4 separate regions of the Homo sapiens genome follow, and regions 1, 2 and 4 are each linked to region 3. Evidence: promoter capture Hi-C in 16 types of primary human blood cells and fetal thymus (Javierre and others, 2016). All regions are on one chromosome and are shown on one strand. The core of a region is centred on a gene start or on the middle of the fragment in contact, and the rest is flanking DNA. Distances in the headings are between cores, read along the strand shown. Region 1 overlaps LOC105378198 (a long non-coding RNA gene). Region 2 has its middle 11 kb from the start of PCDHA1. Region 3 holds the start of TAF7 (TATA-box binding protein associated factor 7). Region 4 overlaps LOC105378198 (a long non-coding RNA gene).

Region 1 (3,512 bases), core at 379-2,878, 570 kb before region 3:
GGTCCATCCTCATTTGCATGTGCCAGAAGCAGCATGGCAGGGTACATGCTTATTGGCTGTAGCCTGGTGCTCATGGGTGTTCGGGCATTCATAACAGTGGCAGAGACAGCATGGCTCAGGGGTTGGGGTCCCTGCTGGTGACTGACTGCGTGTGTGGTTTGCTGGTGGTGGTGTTAGCATGGGGGCAAGGTGCTGGCAGGTGCAGGACTGTGTGCACCTTCTGTGTGTTTTCATGTAGGTGGAGGTGGTCACTTAGGGCAGTGGAGGGTCCACTCTTCTCTGCCTAGTTTCACTCTGGTGACAATGTTGGTGCTGGGGCAGGGTGCTGGTGGTGGCTGGGCTGCACTCTGACTACAGTGGAAGTATGATGGGGGAGGTGGTGGAGTGGACTGCACTTACCCCAGCAGCAGTGGCAGCAGAGGGTTCATGGGCACACACATGCTGGTAGGACAGGGAAGGTAAAATCCACCCATGCACATATACTCCAGCAATATAGGGGTGGTTGTGGGCCTGGAGTGAGGGGAGGGAGTGGGTGGGCTGGTGCAGTCTGCCAGCGCAGGAGCTATGATGCAGCCCCCCGAGGGCACTCGAGGCTGCATTGCAAGCAGGTGCAGCCAGGCTGGGGCCCTGCGAGAGGTCAGCAGGCAAAGGGGTGCTCACGTCAGACTGGCCTCATTTGGTGGGCAAGACTGCCCTGAGAGCTCATGTCCAACAGTTCCCCTAGGGCTAAAGTCTCTTATGGGAGCAAATCAAGCCTAGGGGGATGGGCATCCCTGATTATGCTTCACTACAGACATTACCACAACAAACCCTCTGGGCTCTGCACCAGCTGGAGTGCTTCCCCTACCACTTCTCTAAGCAGCTCTCCCTGCCAACTCAAGTGTCCATGGTGGTTGAGGGGTCTCCTCCTGCCCAGATTCCAGAGGCATGTGGTGAGGGCAGGTTGCTCCTTTCCAGTTCAACTTGCTCCTTCCCCTGGAGTAATTGGGGGCTTTTTTTCAGGTTTGATATCGGAGTAATGCTGGCCTCGCAGAATGAGTTTGAATGTATTCTCTCCTCTTTAGTATTTTGAAATATTTTGAGAATAATTGGTATTCTTCTTCTTTTTTTTTTTTTTTTTTTTTGGGACAGAGTCTTGCACTATCTCCCAGGCTGGAGTGCAGTGGTGCGATCTCGGCTCACTGCAAGCTCAGCCTCCCAGGTTCACGCCGTTCTCCTGCCTCAGCCTCCCGAGTAGCGGGGACTACAGGCGCCCGCCATCACGCCCGGCTAATTTTTTGTATTTTTAGTAGAGACGGGATCTCACCGTGTTAGCCAGGATGGTCTCGATTTCCTGACCTCGTGATCCACCCGCCTTGGACTCCCAAAGTGCTGGGATTACAGGCATGAGCCGCCGCGCCCGGTTTTTATTCTTCTTTAAATGTTGGTAGAATTCAGTAGTGAAACTACCAGGTATTGGGCTTTTCTTTGATGGGAGACTTTTTATTACTGATTCGATGTCCTTACTCATTATTGGTCTCTTGAAATTTTTTTATAACTTCATAATTCAATCTTAGTAGGTTGTATGTGTCCAGGAATTTATCTGTTTCTTCTAGGTTATTCCATTTGTTGGTGTAAAATTGTATAATAATGTCTTATGATCCTTTTTATTTCTGTGGTATCAGTTATAATGTCTCCTTTTTCATTATTGTTTTGTTTGTCTTCTCTCTATTTTCCTTAGGTAGTTTAGCTAACTGTTGGCTGGTTTTATTTTTTCTCAAAACACCAACTCTTAATTTTGTTGCTCTTTTGTATTTTTTTCAAGCCTCTATTTCATTTATTTATATGCTGATATTTTTTAGACGAGGCCTCACTCTGTCACCCAGGCTGGAATGCAGTGGTGTGATGTTGGCTCACTGCAACGTCTACTACCCAGGCTCAAGAGTTCCTCCCACCTCAGCCTCTTGAGCAGCTGAAACCACAGGCACCTGCCACCACGCCTGGCTATTTTTTTTTTTCATTTTTGGAAGAGATGGTGTTTCACCATGTTGCCCAGGCTGGTCTTGAACTCCTGTGCTCAAGTCATCCATATACCTCAGCCTCCCAAAGTGCTGGGATTACAGGCGTGAGCCACCTCATCTCACCTAAATTATGACCTTTATTACTTCCTTCTCCTAATTTTAGATTTAGTTTGTTCTTGTATTTCCAGTTCCTTGAGGTATAATGTTGGATTCTTTATTTGAAACCTTTCTTCTTTTTGAATGTAGGTGTTTATAGCTATAAACTTTTCTCTGAGAACTGCTTTTGCTGTATCCCATAAGTTTTGGTGCATTGTGTTTCCATTTCTATTTGTCCAAAAGGGATATTTAAATGTCTTTTAATTTCTTCATTGACTCATTGGTTTTTCAGGAGCATATTTACTCTCTATGAATGTATAAAGTTTCTGAAGTTCCTTCTGTTATTGATTTTTAGTTTTATATCATTGTGGTCAGAAGAGACAATTGATATGATTTCAATCTAAAATTTGTCAAGGCTTGTTTTGTGGCCTAACATATTATCTATTCTGTTAAATATTTTATGTACAGTTGAGAAGAATGTGTATTCTGCAGCTGTTGGATGGAATGTTCTGTAAATGTCTGCTAGGTCCATTTGGTCTACAGTGCAGTTTAAATCTGAAGTTTCTTTGTTGATTTTCTGTCTGGATGACCTGTCCATTGCTGAAAATGGATAGCAAATCCCCCTAATATCATTGTATTGCAGTCTTGTTCTCCCTTTAGATCTATTAATATTCGCTTTATATATTTAGGTGTTCCAATATTGGATGCTTTTGTATTTACAATTGTTATATCCTCTTGCTGAATTGAACTTTTATTATTATATAATGACTTTCATTGTCTCTTTTTAGAGTTTTTGACTTAAAGTTTATTTTATCTGATGTAAGTACAGCTATTCTTGCTCTCTTACAGTCTCCATTTGCATGGAAATTCTTTTTTTTTTTTTTTTTTGAGACAGAGTCTTGCTCTGTCGCCCAGGCTGAAGTGCAGTGGCATGAAATTATATTCATTAAGGTGAAGATAAAATGTGCTTTGGCATAATGAAAGAGTAGAACAGATTAAGAGAATCAGAAATCTGTGAGAGATGGGATGAATGTCACAATATTAAAGAGCTATATAGAATAATCAGGATAGACTTCATTAAGAAATTATATCTAACTTGAAGGATGTGAGGGAGTTAGCCAAGCTGTTTTCTTGGGGTAAAACATTTAAGGCAGAGGGAAAAACTACAGCAAATGCCCTAAGGAAGAAGAATGCTTATTGTGTTCAAGGAGTAGCAGAGACGTCTGTGTGCTTGGATCAGAGAGATAATAATTATTAGGAGGAAATGAGGCCAAGGTGGTAATAAAAGAAACAGATAACTTGGGTTTTCTTTGTCACTGTAAGTCTTTGCTTTCCTGAGGGAAATAGGAAGCTAGAGCTACTCTTTTTGGCACAGGAGTGATGTGGCTAAAGGATTACTCTGGCTGCCATATTAGA
Region 2 (3,454 bases), core at 352-2,851, 550 kb before region 3:
GATTTTCAAATATTGAATATATGAAAAAAGCCCACTTGATCATGGTGTATAATTCTTTTTACTCATTGTAAAATTTTATTTGCTAGTATTTTAAAAATTGTTGAAATCTAAATTTATAAAAGTTATCACTCTGTGTTTTCTTTTTATTTTTGTATTGTCTTTGGTTTTGGCATCAGGGTGATACTGTCTTCATAGCATACATTGAGAAATATTCCTTCTACTTAGATGGATTACTTTCCTATGTGGGGACTTCCAAAAGTTCATGGAAAATAGAATTAAAAGATCAAAATAAAAATTATCAATTTTATTTCTCAACAAAATCTCCATCAAGTTCAAGACACTTTTAAAATTTATTTTATTTTGTTTTATTTTAAGCTCCACGATACATGTGCAGAATGTGCAGGTTTGTTATATAGGAAAATGTGTGCCATGGTGGTTTGCTGCACCTATCACCTAGGTATTAAGCCCCACATGCATTAGCTATTTTTCCTGATGCTCTTCCTCCCCCACTCCCATGACAGGCCCAGGTATGTGTTGTTCCCCTCCCTGTGCCCATGTGTTCTCATTGTTCAGCTCCCACTTATGAGTGAGAACAAGTGGTGTTTGGTTTTCTGTTCCTGTGTTAGTTTGCTGAGGATGATGGCCTCCAGCTTCATCCATGTCCCTGCAAGGGACATGACCTCAGTCTTTTTTATGGCTGCATAGTATTCCATGGTGTATATGTACTACATTTCCTTTATCCAGTCTATCATTGATGGGCATTTGGGTTGATTCCATGTCTTTGCTATTGTGAATAGTGCTGCAATAAACATACGTGTGCTTGTATCCTTATAATAGAATGATTTACATTCCTTTGAGTATATACTCAGTAATGGGATTGCTGGGTCAAATGGTATTTCTGGTTCTAGATCTTTGAGGAATTGCCACACTGTTTTCCAAAATGGTTGAATTAATTTACATTCTCACCAACAACATAAAAACATTCCTATTTCTCCACAACCTCACCAGCATCTATTGTTTCTTGACTTTTTAATAATCACCATTCTGACTGGTGTGAGATGGTATATCACTGTGGTTTTGATTTGCATTTCTCTAGTGATCAGTGATGTTGAGCTTTTTTTCACATGTTTGTTGGCTGCATAAATGTCTTCTTTTGAGAAGTGTCTGTTCATGTCCTTTGCCCACTTTTTGATGGGGTTGTTTGTATTTTTTCCTTGTAAATTTGTTTAAGTTCCTTGTAAATTCTGGATATTAGACCTTTGTCAGATGGGTAGATTGCAAAAATTTTCTCCCATTTTATAGGTTGCCTGTTCACTCTGATGATAGTTTCTTTTGCTGTGCAGAAGGTATTTAGTTTAACTAGACCTCATTTATCAATTTTTGCTTCTGTTGCAATTGCTTTTGGTGATTTCATCATAAAATCTTTGCTCATGCCTATGTCCTGAATGGTGTTGCTTATATTTTCTTCTAGGGTTTTTATGGTTTTGGGTTTTATATTTAAGTCTTTAATCCATATTGAGTTAATTTTTATATAAGGTGTAAGGAAGGGGTCCAGTTTCAATTTTCTGCATATGACCAGCCAGTTTTCCCAGCACTATTAATTAAGTAGGGAATTCTTTTCCAATTGCTTGTTTTTGTCAAGTTTGTTAAAGGTCAGATGGTTGTAAATGTGTGGTCTTATTTCTGAGATCTCTATTCTGTTCCATTGGTCTATGTGTCTGTTTTGGTACCAGTACCATGCTGTTTTGGTTACTGTAGCCTTGTAGTATAGTTTGAAGTCAGGTAGCGTGATGCCTCCAGCTTTGTTCTTTTTGCTTAGAATTGTCTTGGCTATATGGGCTCTTTTTTTGTTCCATACGAATTTTAAAGTCATTTTTTCTAATTCTGTGAAGAATGTCAATGGTAGTTTGATGGAAATAACATTGACTCTATAAATTACTTTGGGCGGTGTGGCCATTTTCATGATATTGATTATTCCTATTCATGAGGATGGAATGTTTTTCCATTTGTTGTGTCCTATCTTATTTCCTTGAGCAGTGGTTTGTAGTTCTCCTTGACGAGGTCCTTCACATCTTTTGTTAGCTGTATTCCTAGGTATTTTATTCTCTTTGTAGCAATTGTGAATGGGAGTTCATTCATGATTTGGCTCTCTGCTTGTCTATTGTTGGTGTACAGGAATGCTTGTGATTTTTGCACATTGATTTTGTGTCCTGAGACTTTGCTGAAGTTGCTTATCAGCTTAAGGAGCTTTTGGGCTGAGACAATGGGTTTTTCTAGATATAGGATCATGTTGTCTGCAAACAGAGGCAATTTGACTTCCTCTTTTCCTATTTGAATACCCGTTATTTCTTTCTCTTGCCTGATTGCCCTGGCCAGAACTTCCAATACTATGTTGAATAGGAGTGGTGAGAGAGGGCATCTTTGTCTTGTGCTGCTTTTCAAGGGAAGTGCTTCTGGGTTTTGCCCATTCTGTATGATATTGGCTATGGGTTTGTCGTAAATGGCTCTTACTATTTTGAGATATGTTCCATCAATACCTAGTTTATTGATTGTTTTTAACATGAAAGGATGTTGAATTTTATCAAAGGCTTTTTCGGCATCTTTTGAGATAATCTTGTGGTTTTTGTCATTAGTTCCGTTTATGTGATGAATTATGTTTATTAATTTGCGTATGTTGAACCAGCCTTGCATCCCAGGGATGAAGCAGACTTGATCATGGTGGATAAACTTTTTGATGTGCTGCTGGATTCAGTTTGACAGTATTTTATTGAGGATTTTTGCATCAGTGTTCATCAGGGATACTGGCCTGAAGTTTTCCTTTTTTGTTGTATCTCTGCCAGGTTTTGGTATCAGGATGGTACCTCTGTCCAGTTCTGTGCACTTGCTGGAGAAGTGTTGTGATCATTTGGAGAAGAGGCACTCTGGCCTTTTGAGTTTTCAGCATTTTTCAGCCACAGCCTGTATACTGCACTGTGGGGATTACCTCTTGGAACCAAGCTGTCCTGTCTCTCCGGCTCCAGGAGGGGAAAAATGTGGTCTAGAGCTATAGTGATGGCTGCCACCCTCCCCGCTACCCCCAGTTCAGTGTCAGGTAGCAGTGTACTTAGCTAGCAGCTGGAGTAATGTTTGCCTTCCCTCCCGCAGGGAGCTCAGTTTTCTTAGGCAGCTAGCAACCACAGTGATGAGGGCCGCCCCCACCTCAGGGAGCTCAGTTGTCTTAGGCAGCTGACAGCCGCAGTGATGGCTGCCATCTCTCCCCCTGGAAGCTCAGATGGCTTAGACAGCAGGCAGCTGCAGTGATGATGGCGGCTTCTCCTCCGGGAACTCATTACCTTTAGGCAGATTCCAGCAAGAGTGGCTGTTGAGAGTCTGTGCAGCTCTGTGGTTGGGACCCAAGGCCCTGGTAGTATGGGCTCACGAGTGGAATCTTCCGATCTGTGGGTTGCGCAGATCT
Region 3 (3,015 bases), core at 33-2,532:
CCACCGAGTACTAACAGCTTCAGCATCTGTACTCAGCAATCGTTTCACTTCTTTTTCAACATCTGGAGATTCAATATATTTCTTCTTTGCTGTCTTCCGGAACCTTCTCTTCCTGACATTCTTTAGAGGCAGAGTAATTCCGTGGTTCCAGATAAACTTTTTCTCTTTGTCCTTATCCTTTTTCTTGCTTGCTTTAGGATCAGTGCTAGCAACTGGCTCCTCCACAGGAGGATAGAGATCACCATCAACTGTGGATACAAGCATCTGACAGATATCAGCTGTCTTGTAAAAAGTTTTTTTATCAATGGTTTTCAAGCTTTCCATAACACAGGGCAGGTCTACTAATTTTGAGGCCAATGGAACACGGTCCACTCTGACGATTCCATGACGCCCATCAGGATGTAACTCAATTGTCAGTCTGTCCTTGAGGTTGACATGACCAGACTGTACTGCCCTTCTCACAGTAGAGGCATATTCTGGAGGCAGACGTAAGATAAACTGGCTCTCCAGTTCGTGAGGAGCATCATCTTTGCTTTTACTCATCTTTATTTCCTTGTGATTCACTTCTCCAATAAATGCTGGTTACACTAAAAAGTTCCAGCTACTGCAATAGTTTAAAACACCAGTTTGCTATGAATTGAAATCTTTTAATTACAAGAAGTTCTCTGTAGATCAGCAGCTAAGCGTCTATTTTGCCTTAGTTTTTATTTAAGCTCCAAGTCTTTTCTCTAAATATGCTGTGACCGAATACCAGTCGTTAACACAAAGGCTTATTCACAGACTTAAGTTCATTAAATCAGATGCAATGCCAAGTCCCAACCTCTAGGTGCCGCTGCCGGACAACGCGGAGAGAGCTAGCTAGCTAGCTAGGGAACAGGAAAGCAAATGGCGGCTCCCCCGGAACGGTTTTCGGCCCAGAAAGCCCAGCAGAGATACTTTCAACTCACAAACTCTCCCGGAACAAAGACACTCAAAAAATCAGGGCTCAGCGAGCTCTCTTCGCCTCGGGTACTTACAATCCAGTGACGATTATAAGTTCAGTTTCACCGGGCCGGAGCGAAGGGAAGAGGAGGCCGCAAGGAGCCAAGCGGGAGAGAGCCGAGCGTCTCCTTGTCGTTTCCTTAATTCTTCCTGCCGCTTGGCAGAGTGATCCACTACCGATTACTGATGAAAGGGCCCGGGATGGGCAGCGCGAAATCTTGCCGAGAGGCGCAGCTCGCATCACCAGACCCCGCACCTCGCCGGCCCTCCGTCCGGGTCGCCTACCCAGCAAAAACGGAAGTGCTACGTCGCGACGCGGGGCGGGAGGCGGCTGTGAGTGACAGCCCCTCCGGGCGGAAGGGCGGAGCCCCAGCTAGCGCAGGCGCAATAGCGCAATTACGCTGCCCAGCGTGAAACTCATCTTTTCGCGAGAACTTGTTTTTCCGGGATGGAAATGACAGTGTTTCGGAAGAGCTGTTGGTTTCAAACTATTTAGAGCTTGGAAGTTCCAAGAAAGACACAGATTCGTCCCCCGCTAAGCCAGCACTTTTACGGGATCGCTGTGGGGCCGGATGGCTTCTAGACTTCCGGGTGATTCCGGGAGATGGGGGACGCCTTGCAGTAAGCGTCTTTGCTTCTGGAAACATCTCGGATGTTCCCTAGAGTCTAGCCTATCTGGTGCCAATACAAGAATGTGTAGCTACTATACAATGGATTTCAAAGTACCCAAATCAATGGAGTGAGGAGGACATGCAGCTTACTATATAAGTCTCTCTCTATATATATGTTTGTTTGTTTGTTTTGGAGATGGAGTCTCAGGCTGTCACCCAGGCTAGAGTGCAGTGGCACAATATTGGCTGACTGCAACCTCCACCTCTGGGGTTCAAGCGATTCTCCTGCTTCAGCCTCTTAAGTAGTTGGGATTACAGGCACGTTCCACTACCCCACCTAAGTTTTGTATTTTTAGTAGAGAAGGGGTTTCACCATGTTGGCCAGGCTGGTCTCGAACTCCTGACCTGAGGTGATCTGCCTGTCTTGGCCTCCCAAAGTACTAGGATTATAGGTGTGAGCCAGCGCGCATGGCCCAAAGTCTGTATTTTTAAATATAATTCCCTGTAGGGGAATTGTGCCTCTGGTTTTACTTGTGTTCTATAATACTTCTGGGGAAACAAGGGTGATTCCTTTTTATGTGCTTGATTTAGATGTAAATGTAAACAGAGAAGGAAGTGTTCTTTTGGACAGAATTGTCTGATAGACTGAGCATCTGGTTAAAGTAGATATAATTGAAGTATTGTTTCCTGTCTCTCATGTACAAGTAATTTTAAATTACTTTGACATTTTTTTTAACTCCACCTCTACTATTTTGCTGTTTTCTGCTTGTCTTTTCTATCAATAGTCAGGTATTCATCAACACATATTTTTAGTATTTTAACATAACTGGGTAACAGTTGGTACTTATTTCTATTTATTTCCATTTATTTTTAAAATATCTGGGAGAGCATCAAGGCCATTAATATTTCATTTCTATCCTCTAAAATATTAACAATTGCCCCTAAATTTAAGAGAATTCTCTTAAGATGTAATTAACATTTCCAAAATTCACTTTATTCTTGTATGATTGAAAGCTCCATGATAGTGATCTTCTTCTATCCTGGTCATTGTGTCCCAGTGCCTAGTACCAGAATGTGGGAGATACACAAAAAATATTTGCTAATTGAATGAAAAAACTTATCTGTCTAGAAAGATCATAGTCTCAAATCCTGTAGTGATTTCTGAGAGAAAATACATTCTTTGTCATTTTAAAATGAGATAGAGCCACTTTACATACATTTCCTTTCTAGTCAAGGACAATTCTAATTGTTATGAGGTGGGGAGGTTTACTAATAGTGTGTGTGAATGTGGTTTAGCTAGAATGAGATACTGTTGTGGGAGGAAATTAAAATGACCTGACGTTAGTTTGGTTTTTAATGTTAATTTTAAAAGAGAAAGTATGCCCTTCCAGATAACGGTAAATTATTTCTCTTTGCTTATAAT
Region 4 (3,329 bases), core at 305-2,804, 580 kb before region 3:
CAACAAAACCAGTTCGTGGTTCACTCACATAATAGATATCTTGTTCATAAATGAACGTATAAATTGGCATACCCTTGGAGGTATAACTTGTGCCCCTTGAGGACACACTTTCCTATATAGAATTGAGTCAGATCCCCCAGTTCAAGAAGAGGCACACAGATGCATAAACAGCTGGCAAGTTGAAGGACTTTGCCTTCTAGGTCATTACGTTGCCCTCTTTTCCATCCATCTCAATCATAAAGAAAATCTTGCTTTCCGGTAAGCTAAAAGAGAGCTACCAAGTGGATATCAGGATATGTGGTAGCATAGTTTTTGGGGTGTAATTTTTCTCAGCTACGGAGTATACACTAACAGAGATACGATAAAAAAAAATGCCGGCCACCATAGGACAAATTGCTGAAAATGCTGCAATAAGTATTATGACACAGTAGAAGTCCTTAAATTCTCTCGCTCAAGTGGTTTTAGACAATCAAATTGCACCAGGTTTTCTCATTGCTAAACAAGGGGGAATTTGCATGATAGCCCACACCACTTGTTGCACTTATATCAACATTATAGGAGATTTAACAACCCATGTAGGTAAGATCACCCAACAGGCTGCCTGGTTACAGGAGGTACAAACCACAGATCCCCTTAATAACGTTTTTAGCTGACTCATTGCAGTATTAGAAATTACTTCCAATCCATCTTACAAACCCTTGTCATTATCATATCACTATCTTGTTCCTATTTTTGATAGTCAAAGTACTTATAAGATCTATAACCAACTACTTCAAGTCTGTCACTAAAACCAAAGTTATGGTAGCACAATGCATAGAAATGACAGACAACATAAACATAAACTTACCTTCTCAACTTTTCTGTTGTTACTGTTTTTCTAGTCTCAAAGGTTCAAAGGGTCTTAATAGCTGTCTGCCTCCTTCTTGCCTGGCCTAAAATATTCAACTGGTTGTAAGTCTCCTAGCCACATGAGTCCCACTGACAGACTAGATAGACCTGGGGCAGGTATCCACACCATCCTGGGAACGACATGGGACATGTTAGAAAATTTAGCCATCAATGCTGCCTATGGCAGATTTCAGCCTAAAGCTGGAAAGTGTGAAATAAAACTAAAGTCCCTAAGCCCCTAGGTGAAACAGAATGGACTTCTTGTTGCAAAAGAGACCCCAGAAACTTTGAAAACTGCATTCTATGGCTTTGGCAAGGCAAGAGGTCAGTCACACCTCAACACTCCCCTACCTTGTTAACTGCCTCAAAACTTTCCTTCCTACAATTAAACAGAAACGAGTTCCTAAAAAACTGTCTGGAAGATTTCTCCCTCAACCTCAAGAGACCTCTTGATGTCATGGCTGACCTCCCCTCTTTTATCGTGGTTTCACCATGACTACTGACCAGCCTTATTAAACATTCCATTGTTATACTGACCACCGACCACAGACTGATTGCACCTAGTCCACAGAGGCTGTGCACAAGATGCCTTTGTGTTCTGTTTCACCTTGTTATATATAAACAGCCACGTGCCACTTCACTTTACTATTAAATCCCCACCCCAAAATGAACATGGAACATATGTAACATATATGTTTATTCTCTTTGCATGCATTAGGGTTTTCTCAAATATTCATAGATTCTCCTATAAGCTACTGAATATGTACATATAGCTCATCTTGTTGGGCATAAGTCCCAGCTTCTCCCTTTTGTCTCTGAAGCAGATGCTTTTCATTTTGGCTGGATGTTTCATTTCCCAACCTGCAGATTGTAACCATTTATAGGAAATAAAACTCTCTTTTTTCTTCTTCCTCAAATCTCATGATCTTTTGTTAATACTTCCCTTCCCAGCAGGGGGGATTATATGAGAAGACTGGACTTAGACCTCTACCCAGTGGTAATGTGGCCATCCTCACTGTGGTGTCAGGGGAGCCAGAACTTCCATGCTTACCCAGCAGTAACAATGAGCTCCCTTCTTCAGGTGGCAATGGAGGCTCTGTGGGGAACCTGGACTTCTGCCTGCACCTGGCAGTAATTAGGTGACATCTCCTTCTTTCTCTGTTCCCCCTTCTGCCTAAATGGTATCAGAGAAATCCCACTAAAACAGAAGGTTTAAATAGGATCCAGAGTAGCGGAATATAATATGAACATATCCAGGTTTTAATGAAAAGTTACTTATCATACCAGAAGATCTCAAACAGAATGAAAAAATGACAATCAACAGATGCCAACATTGTGATGACAGAGATATTAGAATTATCTGACAGAAATTTTAAATTAGCCATTGTAAAAATGCTTCAATAAGCAATTATAAACATTCTTGGAATAAATGAAAAATAGAATGCATAAGCAAAGAAATAGATGATAAAAGAAGAACTAAATGGAAATTTTAGAACTGAAAAATATAATAACTGAAATAAAAACCTCAGTGGATGGGGTGGGTGGGTTCAGCAGCATAATGGAGGAGGCAGAAAAAATAACAAGTGAACTAGAAGATAGAATAATAAAAATTATCCAACCTAAACAACAGAGAGAAATTAGACGGAAAAAAATGAATAGACTTTGATAAGTTGTGGACAGAGCAACCGCTAACATGTTATACAAAGAGATGCACTAAAAAACATAGTATTAACTCAAAATAGAATTTTAGAAAATATTAAAGTAAGATGAAGGCACGAAGAATAAAACAGAGAAGTGAAAATCCAAATGAACAGGAGGCCAGGTGCAGTGGCTCACACCTATAATCCCAGCATTTTGGGAGGCCGAGGTAGGAGGATCACTTGAGGCCAGAAGTTTGAGACCATCTTGGGTGACATAGTGAGACCTCGTCTCTACAAAAAAATAAAAATAAAAAAGCCCCAAAATGAACAATTAGTAAAATACAACATAGATTTCCTTTAGTAACAATTCTCCTCATATCCTTCCTTATTCTTCTTTTTATTCTTCTCTATGATTACCTATTAATGATGAAATACTAGATGTTTTACTTTCTATTTCTTCATAGGATTCCTCTGAATATATTTCTTTCTTTCTCTCTCTCTCTCTTTTTTTTTTTTTTTGAGACAGAGTCTCACTCTGCTGCCCAGGCTGGAGTACAGTGGTGCGATCTCAGCTCACTGCAACCTCTGTCTCCCAGGTTCAAGTGATTCTCATGCCTCAGTTTCGTGGGATTACAGGTGCACACCACCACTCCCGGCTAATTTTTGTATCAGTAGAGACAAAGTTTCACCATGTTGCCCAGGCTGGTGAACATGTTTCTTAATCGTATTCATCCTTTTTAGAATGACAGGGTGGCTTCTCAGAGGTACCATTGGGATCACCTCCAAGTTCTGCAGAATAAT

Evidence for each region. The method cuts DNA at HindIII sites, captures the fragments that hold promoters and counts their contacts. A CHiCAGO score of 5 or more calls a contact.
Region 1: a fragment that was not itself captured here is called in contact with the fragment with the promoter of TAF7 in region 3 in 4 of 17 cell types (M1 macrophages, M2 macrophages, M0 macrophages and 1 more); the score reaches 12.7 in M1 macrophages.
Region 2: a contact is called between a fragment that was not itself captured here and the fragment with the promoter of TAF7 in region 3, in 4 of 17 cell types (M2 macrophages, M1 macrophages, megakaryocytes and 1 more). The highest score is 12.0, in M2 macrophages.
Region 4: a contact is called between a fragment that was not itself captured here and the fragment with the promoter of TAF7 in region 3, in 2 of 17 cell types (M1 macrophages and M0 macrophages). The highest score is 8.8, in M1 macrophages.

The regions. Positions count from the first base shown.
Region 1 is chr5:140,753,177-140,756,688 of GRCh38, forward strand. The region is part of intron 3 of LOC105378198 (a long non-coding RNA gene); the gene reads left to right. Among named protein-coding and RNA genes, the nearest start is that of PCDHA1, 31 kb to the right of the region's middle. The HindIII fragment of the contact is 5,694 bases long and covers 1-3,512 here.
Region 2 is chr5:140,773,061-140,776,514 of GRCh38, forward strand. No RefSeq gene overlaps it. Among named protein-coding and RNA genes, the nearest start is that of PCDHA1, 11 kb to the right of the region's middle. The HindIII fragment of the contact is 5,471 bases long and covers 1-3,454 here.
Region 3 is chr5:141,319,502-141,322,516 of GRCh38, forward strand. It overlaps TAF7 (TATA-box binding protein associated factor 7), which reads right to left and starts at 1,283. Exons shown (of 1, transcript NM_005642.3): 1 at 1-1,283. The coding sequence starts at 543. RefSeq lists enhancers at 812-1,011, 1,592-1,651, 1,662-1,811. The HindIII fragment of the contact is 5,333 bases long and covers 315-3,015 here.
Region 4 is chr5:140,735,399-140,738,727 of GRCh38, forward strand. The region is part of intron 3 of LOC105378198 (a long non-coding RNA gene); the gene reads left to right. Among named protein-coding and RNA genes, the nearest start is that of ZMAT2, 37 kb to the left of the region's middle. The HindIII fragment of the contact is 5,793 bases long and covers 1-3,329 here.